2 separate regions of the Homo sapiens genome follow, and region 1 is linked to region 2. Evidence: promoter capture Hi-C in 16 types of primary human blood cells and fetal thymus (Javierre and others, 2016). All regions are on one chromosome and are shown on one strand. The core of a region is centred on a gene start or on the middle of the fragment in contact, and the rest is flanking DNA. Distances in the headings are between cores, read along the strand shown. Region 1 overlaps ZNF25-DT (ZNF25 divergent transcript). Region 2 holds the start of FZD8 (frizzled class receptor 8).

Region 1 (4,056 bases), core at 142-2,641, 2.3 Mb after region 2:
ACAATATTACCAGTGCCTGAAGTCTCCTTGAATGACCCATTCTTTATTGGTCATTTCTCTCCCTCTCAAAAGTAGCCCCATCTTGATTTCTGGTTTTTTTTTTTTTTTTTTGAGATGGAGTTTCTCTCTTGTTGCCCAGACTGGAGTGCAATGGCACGATCTCAGCTCACTGCAACCTCTGCCTCCTTGGTTCAAGTGATTCTCCTGCTTCAGCCTCCTGAGTAGCTGGGATTACAGGCATGTGCCACCATGCTTGGCTAATTTTCTGCATTTTTAGTAGAGACAGGGTTTCACCATGTTGGCCAGGCTGGTCTGGAACTCCTGACCTCAGATGATCCACCCACCTCGGCCTTGGAAAATGCTGAGATTACAGGCGTGAGCCACTGCACCCAGCCCCCATCCTCACTTCTAACAATAAAGACCAGTTTTGCAATTTATTATTGCAATTTCTTTTACTCATTTATTTTGAGGTAATCTTATTTTTAATTTTTTTTTTAGATAGAGTCTCACTCTATCACCCAGGCCGGAGTGCAGTGGTGCAATCTCGGCTTACTGCAACTTCCATCTCCCAGGTTCAAGCTATTCTTGTGCATCAGCCTCCCAAGTAGCTGGGATTACAGGTGTTTGCCACCATACCCGGCTATTTTTTTCTATTTTTAGTAGAGTTGGGGTTTCACCATGTTGGCAGGCTGGTCTTGAAATCCTGACTTCAGGTGATCTGTCCACCTCCACCTCCCAAAGTGCTGGGATTACAGACGTGAGCCACTGCACCTGGCCTGAAGTAATCTTTAACTTATAAATAAATTGCAAAAGTAGGATAAAGAATTCTCCTATAGGCCAGGCATGGTTGCTCCTGCCTGTAATCCCAGCATTTTGAGAGGCTGAGGCAGATGGATCACGATGTCAGGAGTTTGAGAACATAGTGAAACCCCATCTCTACTAAAAATATAAAAATTAGCTGGGTGTAGTGGTGCACACCTGTAAGCTCAGCTACTCAGGAGGCTGAGGCAGGAGAATTGCTTGAACCTGGGAGGCGGAGGTTACAGTGAGCCAAGATCATGCCATTGTACCCCAGCCTGGGTGACAGACTGAAACTCCATCTCAGAAAAAAAAAAATTGAATTATCATATATCCTTCACCAAGATAATTCCATCATTAATATTTTGGCACATTTGCTTCATAATTTTTGCTATTTGTGTATATTATGTATTTATTTTTCTTAATCATTTGAGAGTCAGTTGTAGGAATCATTCCACTTTACTCCTAAGTTCTTAGCTGTATATTTTCTATCAGCAAGGATAAAATTCTCAGATAACCATGGTACAGTGCTCAAAATCAGAAAAATTTAACAAAGATATAATATCTAATCTATAATGTACAGTCCATGTTCAAATTTCACTGATTGTCTCAATTAAGTCTTTTTTTTTTTTTTCTTGAGATGGAGTCTTACTCTGTCACCCAGGCTGCAGTGCTGTGGCACAATCTCGGCTCACTACAATCTCCCCTTCTCAGGTTCAAGTGATTGTCCTGCATCAGCCTCCTGAGTAGCTGGGACTACAGGCATGCACCACCATGCCCGGGTAAATTTTGTATTTTTTTTTTTAAGTAGAGATGGATTTTCACCATGTTATCCAGGATGATCTCGATCTCTTTACCTCGTGATCTCCCCATCTCATCCTCCTAAAGTGCTGAGATTACAGGCATGAGCCACTACGCCCAGCCTTCAATTAAGACTTTTATAGATAATTGTTTTTCTGATTCAAGATCCAATTCAAAAACTGTTTCTGGGCTGGGTGTGATGACTCATGCCTGTAATCCCAGTACTTTGGGAGGCCGAGGCGGGTGGATCACTTGAGGTCAGGAGTTTGAGACCAGCCTGGCCAACATAGTGAAACCCCATCTCTACAATAGATACAAAAACTATCTGGGCATATCAGGGGAACCTGCCCCCAATATTTCAACATAGGTTCTTTCTATTTTCCATAAGTGTCAGCCGGCTGAGAAAAATAAAGAGAAAGAGTACAAAGAGAGGAATTTTACAGCTGGGCCTCTGGGGGTGACATCACATCGGTAGGACCGTGATGCCCACCTGAGCCTTAAAGCCAGCAAGTTTTATTAAGGATTTCAAAAGGGGAGGGGGTGCAAGAACAGGGAGTAGGTCACAAAGATCACATGCTTCTAAGGGAAAAATCAGAAACTCCTAATAAGGGTCTAACAAAGATCACAAGACAAAGGGCAAAGGCAAAGATCACAAAGCAAAGGGCAAAAACAAGATCACAAGGCAAAGGGCAAAAGCAGAATTACTGATAAGGGTCTATGTTCAGTGGTGCACGTATTGTCTTTATAAACATCTTAAACAACAGAAAACAGGGTTTGAGAGCAGAGAACCAGGCTGACCTCAAATTTAGTGGGGCAGGGTTTTTCCCCACCCTAGTAAGCCTGAGGGTACTGCAGGAGACCAGGGCATATTTCAGTCCTTATCTCAACCATGTAAGACAGACACTCCCCTCGGGAGGCTGAGGCAGGAGAATGGCGTGAACCCGGGAAGCGGAGCTTGCAGTGAGCCGAGATTGCGCCACTGCAGTCCGCAGTCCGACCTGGGCGACAGAGTGAGACTCCGTCTCAAAAAAAAAAAAAAAAAAAAAAAAAAAGACAGACACTCCCAAAGAAGCCGTTTATAGACCTCCCCACAGGAATGCATTCCTTTCCCAGAGTATTAATCCTTGCTAGGAAAAGAATTTAGCGATATCTTCCCTACTTGCACCTCCATTTATAGGCTCTCTGCAAGAAGAAAAATATGGCTCTATTTTGCCCAACCCCGCAGGCAGTCAGACCTTATAGTTGTCTTCCCTTGTTCCCTGAAAATCGCTGTTATTCTATTCTTTTTCAAGGTGCAATGATTTCATATTGTTCAAACACACATGTTTTACATTCAATTTGTACAGTTAACACAATAGTGGTCCTGAGGTGACATACATCCTCAGTTTACGAAGATAATAGGATTAAGAGATTAAAGTAAGACAGGAGAAAGAAATTATGAAAGTATTATTTGGGAACTGGTAAATGTCTATGAAATCTTCACAATTTATGTTCCTCTGCCACGGCTCCAGCCGGTCCCTCTGTTCAGGGTCCCTGACTTCCCACAACACAGGTGTGGTGGCCCGTGTCTCCTGAGTTGGAAGAATCACTTGAACCCAGGAGGCAGAGGTTGCAATGAGCCGAGATCACGCCACTTCACGCCAGTCTGGGCAATAGAGGGAGACTCTGTCTAAACAAACAAACAAACCAAAACAAAAACCGTTTCTGGCCAAGGTGGAGTAACAAGGACTGGATTTACCCTCCTGCCTAAAACAACTGAAGAAACCAGATAAAATATATGAAACAATGTTTTCAAGTCACTGGATATCAGGCAATGAGCACAGTGACCCATGAAACATGAAATAAGTAAGCTCTACATTTGCCACAGCTTACTGCCTTAAAAGAGTTTCCAGGCTGTGGCACAAGGAGGGGGATCCCAGGCTGAGCGTCATAGACTCCTTGAATTGAGGAGACGCAGCTGAGAGTCCAGAGACACCAAGGCAGCTAGAGTTTGTAGGACAAATTACCAAGGAAGAGAGCTGCACAGAGAGAGACAGCTCTGGTGATCTTCAGAAGGTCCCCTTGAAAACTCAGCAGAGTGCTGTCTGGAACATGCGTATGAGGATATCACCTGAGACTGGGGAATCATCCAAAAAGATTGAAGAGAATAGAGCCCAGTGATGCTGGAAAAAGTACCTGCTGTCACCAGCCAGGATGAGAAAATCATAATTCATGAGCACTGGGGTAGAGTACTCAGAATGATCTTGTCTCAGCAACAAAGAATAATTAGCCCTAGAATAAACACTACAAATGTTAAAAGCAAGACCCAACACTATCAATTAACTGCACCCCAGAAGAAGCCTCAAGAATATTTAGAGAAATACAAAAACATTTTATGGGGCTAAAAGCACCATAAAATTTGTAATATCTGCTAATCTCATTCAAAGATTAGCAGGCTTGGCCAGGAGTGGCTCATGC
Region 2 (3,967 bases), core at 627-3,126:
TTCTCGTGGCCCGCCACCAGGCGCACTAGGTAGCCCACCGACACGAAGAGGTAGCAGGCCGAGAGGAAGATAATGGGCCGCTCCGGGTACTTGAAGCGCTCCATGTCGATAAGGAAGGTGGAGACGGTGGCGAAGGTGGACACGAAGCAGAGCACCGACCACAGGCCGATCCAGAAGACGGTGAAGGCGCGCTCGTCCTGGCTGAAAAAGGGGTTGTGGCAGGGCAGCGCGCAGTTAGCGATCTGGCCTGTCTTGACGCGGTTGTAGAGCGGGTGGCGCTCGCTGGACACGCTCACCATAGGCGCGCGGCACTGGCACCCGGGCTCGCAGGGAGCCGCGCCGCCGCCAGGGGGCCGCGCCTTCCCGCCACCGCCGCCGCCGCGAGCTGGGGGCGCCGCCGCGTCCCCGCCGCCACCGCCCCTGCCGCCGCCGCGGTGCGGGGGCCTGGCCCCCGGCGGGCGGCCGTGGCCGCTGCCCGAAGGCGGCTGCTCGCCGGGCGGCGGCGGCGGCAGGCGGCGCGGCGGGCTGGGCGCGGCGGTGGTTAGGTCGGTGCGGTTGTAGTCCATGCACAGCGTGTCAGGGTTGCCTTGCTCGGGCAGCCGGTCGCAGCGCATGCGGTCGGGCCAGGCGAAGCCGTACTGGCGCATGAGCGGCGCGCAGCCGGCCTTGGCGCGCTCGCACACCGAGCGGCAGGGCGGCAGCGGCTTCTTGTAGTCCTCTAGGCAGATGGGCGTGTACATGCTGCACAGGAAGAACTTGAGATCGGGCGAGCACTGGATCTCCACCAGCGGCCAGAACTGGTGCACCTCCAGGCCCGCCTCGTCTTGCGTGTCGTGGTTGAACTGATTGGGCATGTAGGTGTAGTTGTAGCCGATGCCCTTACACAGCGGCACGGTGATCTCTTGGCATGCCAGCTCCTTGGCCGAGGCGGCCGCAGCGCCGCTAGAGCGCTGCAGCAGCGCCAAGGCGGCCAGCAGCGAGGTCACTTCCAACAGGTAACCCCACTCCATGCTGTGCGCCTCGGCCCGGTGCCCTCGCCCTCCAGGCGGCGCGCAGAGGGGTGCCGGGGGGGGGGCCCACGAGAGAGCCGCAGACGGGTACAGCGGGTGATCTGGGGTCTCCCTTATGCTTCGCCCGGGAGGGGGGTCTGCCGATAATCTAACCCCTTCTAGGGGCGCGTCCGCAGCGGCGCGGCCCGCAGCCTGGGCAGGGCCCTTCCGCACTCCTTTCCGCCGCTCCGGGGGTTTGAAGGCGGCTGCAGGCGCGCGCCACAGTCCGTAGGTCCGCTCTGCTGGCCCCGGGTCGCGCTCAGCCCTCGCGGCGCAGAGCGGCCGGGCCTCGGCTCATCGTCCCGCGCTCGCTCGCCTCCTCTCCGCGCGCCCGACCACTTCTCCCCGCCGCGCCGGGCGGCGGTGACTCCGCCGGACAGAGAGGGCGGAGGCGCCGCAAGTTTCCTCTGGGGCCGCGGTGCGCAGTCAAGATGGCTGGGCCGGGCCGCTTGCCGCGCCGGGTCAGCCCTGGCGGCCACCACTCGGCCCCCGGGGGCTCATGCCCGCCCCCAAGGCCAAGCCGCCGCCGCCGCCGCCGGAGTTGGGGACCCGCCTCGGCCCAGGCCGCCGCCCTCTTTCTCCGGCGTCCGTCCTTCGTCCGTCCGCCGCCGGGACAGACGGACCCCCGCCGCCTGGAAAAGTCAGCGCCGCGCTCCGGCCGCAGTCGGGCGAGGTGCACACAGTCTCCTTCCTGCTGGACACCCAGGAGCAAATCCAGACCGGAAGGCGGAGCGGACACCTGAGTGGCGCGGCCCGCGCCCAGCCGCCGCCTCCTCCTCGGCGGGAGCAGCGCCCTTAGCCCAACTTCCCGGCTCCAGCCCCGCTCGCGCCGCGCTGCCGGCTCATGAATATTTATACAGCGCGGACTCGGTCTCCGCCCCCAGCCCCGCGAGCCAATCGCCGGGCGGTAGGGCGGAGTCCACGCGCTCCCAGGGCTCAGCCTTCCTTAAGGCAGTCCCCGAGTGTCCGCACTGCTGTGCGCGCTCTCTGCGGATGGAGAGTTTTGGTAACCTTGGGATTGACCGCAGAGACAGAGTGTTGGCCATGGCTGTCCCCATGGCGCTGAGTGCGTCGGAGGTCTTGGTCCCCTTACCCCGAGTCTGCCCTTGGGGACAGGGACGGGGTTTGGTGCAGCGCGCGCCTCCCCGGCGCGTTTCAAACCAGCCAAGCCCCTGCTGCCACCCTCCGCAAATGTGGGTGATCTGCAGGCGGCTGGGGTCTCGTGCTCCTCGGGGCGGCAGGAAGGTCTCGCAGCAGGCGAGCGCCGGGGAGGCCTGCCGGGGCTCGGCGCTGCAGAAGACCCGGGAAAGGGTGTCCTCCTTGGGGTTCTCAGAACGATGGTTTCTGAGACTTGGAGATGTGGGGGGTGTGGAGTCATTCTAAACTGGGGCTGGACCCGGGACGGCCCGGGTGAGATGCCCCGGAGCCCAGCCTTGGGCGCGCGAGGGGCGCGGGGGACAAATGCCCGCCAGAGACTCTCCTCCCGCCTCCGCTGCGTGACCTGGGGGAGCCTCAGTTTCCCCACCTAGAGAGTTGGGTGATCATAGCACAGATCTCCAAGGGGGCTTTGATAATTAGGTGAGATAAAATATAGGAAGCCCCGAGCCGCCGTGCTTTCTTAGGAAAAATCATTCAATTTCTTTCTAAAATTCAAAACAAACCTCGAAACTTATAAATAGGACAGGCTGGAAACTCTGGGGCTGGATTCCCTGTCTTCCCTTCGTTCTTTCAGGACGTCTATTCATCCATCCCAAGTTCACAGGCTTTTGCCAGAGCCTCCTTTTCTCTGGTGGGAGGCGGCGCTGCGCTCTGGCGTGGACTCCGCGACACGTATCTGCTCTCTGCACGAGGCCGGAGCCGGACCCGGGCTGCTTTTAGCAGCCGCTTGGGCCACCGCCAGCGAACGCTGCCCCCGCCGGCTCCGCCGCCACCTTAAGACGGGCCGGGAGGGGGGCTGCGGGCGGCCCGGGCCGGCGGCCTGGCAGGTTCATTTACGCTTGTTAGGGCGTCCCAGGGGGCTGTCTTTCTCCTAGAATGGAGTGTTTATTTTTTAATTGATGTGCTGTTTCATTTAGCGCTTGTATGGAACTCATGCTGGGGCAGTAATTACTGTAATCTCGGGAACAAGCATTTCAGTTAGCCAGGAGGGTGGCAGAATATGTTTCTCTCTCTCTTTCTCTCCCTCCCTCCCGCCTCCTCCCCATCTCCGTCCCCCTCTCTCCCTCTTCCTCCCTGCCTCTCTTCTGTCTTCCCTCTCTCTCTCTCCCCACCTCCTTTCCTTCTCTCTCTCCCCCACCACTTTCTCTCCCCCCTCCTCCTCTTCCCCTCCTCCCTCTCCTTCCTTCCCTCCCTTTTCTCTCCGCTCTCTCACTCTCTTCTTGTTTCAAGATTTTTGCTATTTGCCAGGTTTCATACCGGAACAAGTACAGTTGGAGAACAAAAGTTGCAGAGGGCGTGGGGACAGAGCAAAAGAATTAAAAGTACATTTGAGGCCAGTTCCGGTTTTCGGGGCGCTGCTGGTGGTGGTGGTAGCTCGTGGTTGTCCGTTCAGAAACAACTCTTGTCATAAAACAAAAATAACCAGCAGTATTTGTAGATTGCTTGAGCTGATGGCATCTATGTCTTCCTCCTCCTGCTTTCTGTAGCTCAGTTAGCAACCTCATTATGAAACATATTACAAGTAGACTGTCAGACCGCACCCTGCCCCAGCGCCCCGTTTTTGGCAAGTTCTGTGTTCTAGGCATATCCACCAATCTATAGTTATACCCCCCTATCTTTTTAACTTTTTTAGTTTTAGTCTATAGAGTTGAACCTCTTTATACTGAAAAACAACACTTCCTTCCCACTTTTGTTTTGGAAAAACTAAAGTCCGTAGGAATTCGGAATTCAAAGGCTTCAGAAATATTAGCTGATTCAGC

What was found. The method cuts DNA at HindIII sites, captures the fragments that hold promoters and counts their contacts. A CHiCAGO score of 5 or more calls a contact.
Region 1: a contact is called between a fragment that was not itself captured here and the fragment with the promoter of FZD8 in region 2, in 1 of 17 cell types (naive CD8 T cells). The highest score is 5.1, in naive CD8 T cells.

The regions. Positions count from the first base shown.
Region 1 is chr10:37,980,566-37,984,621 of GRCh38, forward strand. The region is part of intron 2 of ZNF25-DT (ZNF25 divergent transcript); the gene reads left to right. Among named protein-coding and RNA genes, the nearest start is that of ZNF25-DT, 5.8 kb to the left of the region's middle. The HindIII fragment of the contact is 7,521 bases long and covers 1-4,056 here.
Region 2 is chr10:35,640,420-35,644,386 of GRCh38, forward strand. FZD8 (frizzled class receptor 8) reads right to left here and starts at 1,877. Exons shown (of 1, transcript NM_031866.3): 1 at 1-1,877. The coding sequence starts at 1,010. It overlaps LOC124902528 (zinc finger protein 469-like), which reads right to left and starts at 2,427. Exons shown (of 2, transcript XM_047426128.1): 1 at 2,211-2,427; 2 at 1,309-1,994. The coding sequence starts at 2,427. The coding sequence ends at 1,309. MIR4683 (microRNA 4683) reads right to left here and starts at 833; the gene lies at 753-833. It overlaps LOC105376494 (a long non-coding RNA gene), which reads left to right and starts at 2,896. Exons shown (of 2, transcript XR_930820.3): 1 at 2,896-3,967. RefSeq lists an enhancer at 66-225 and a silencer at 336-425. The HindIII fragment of the contact is 11,239 bases long and covers 1-3,967 here.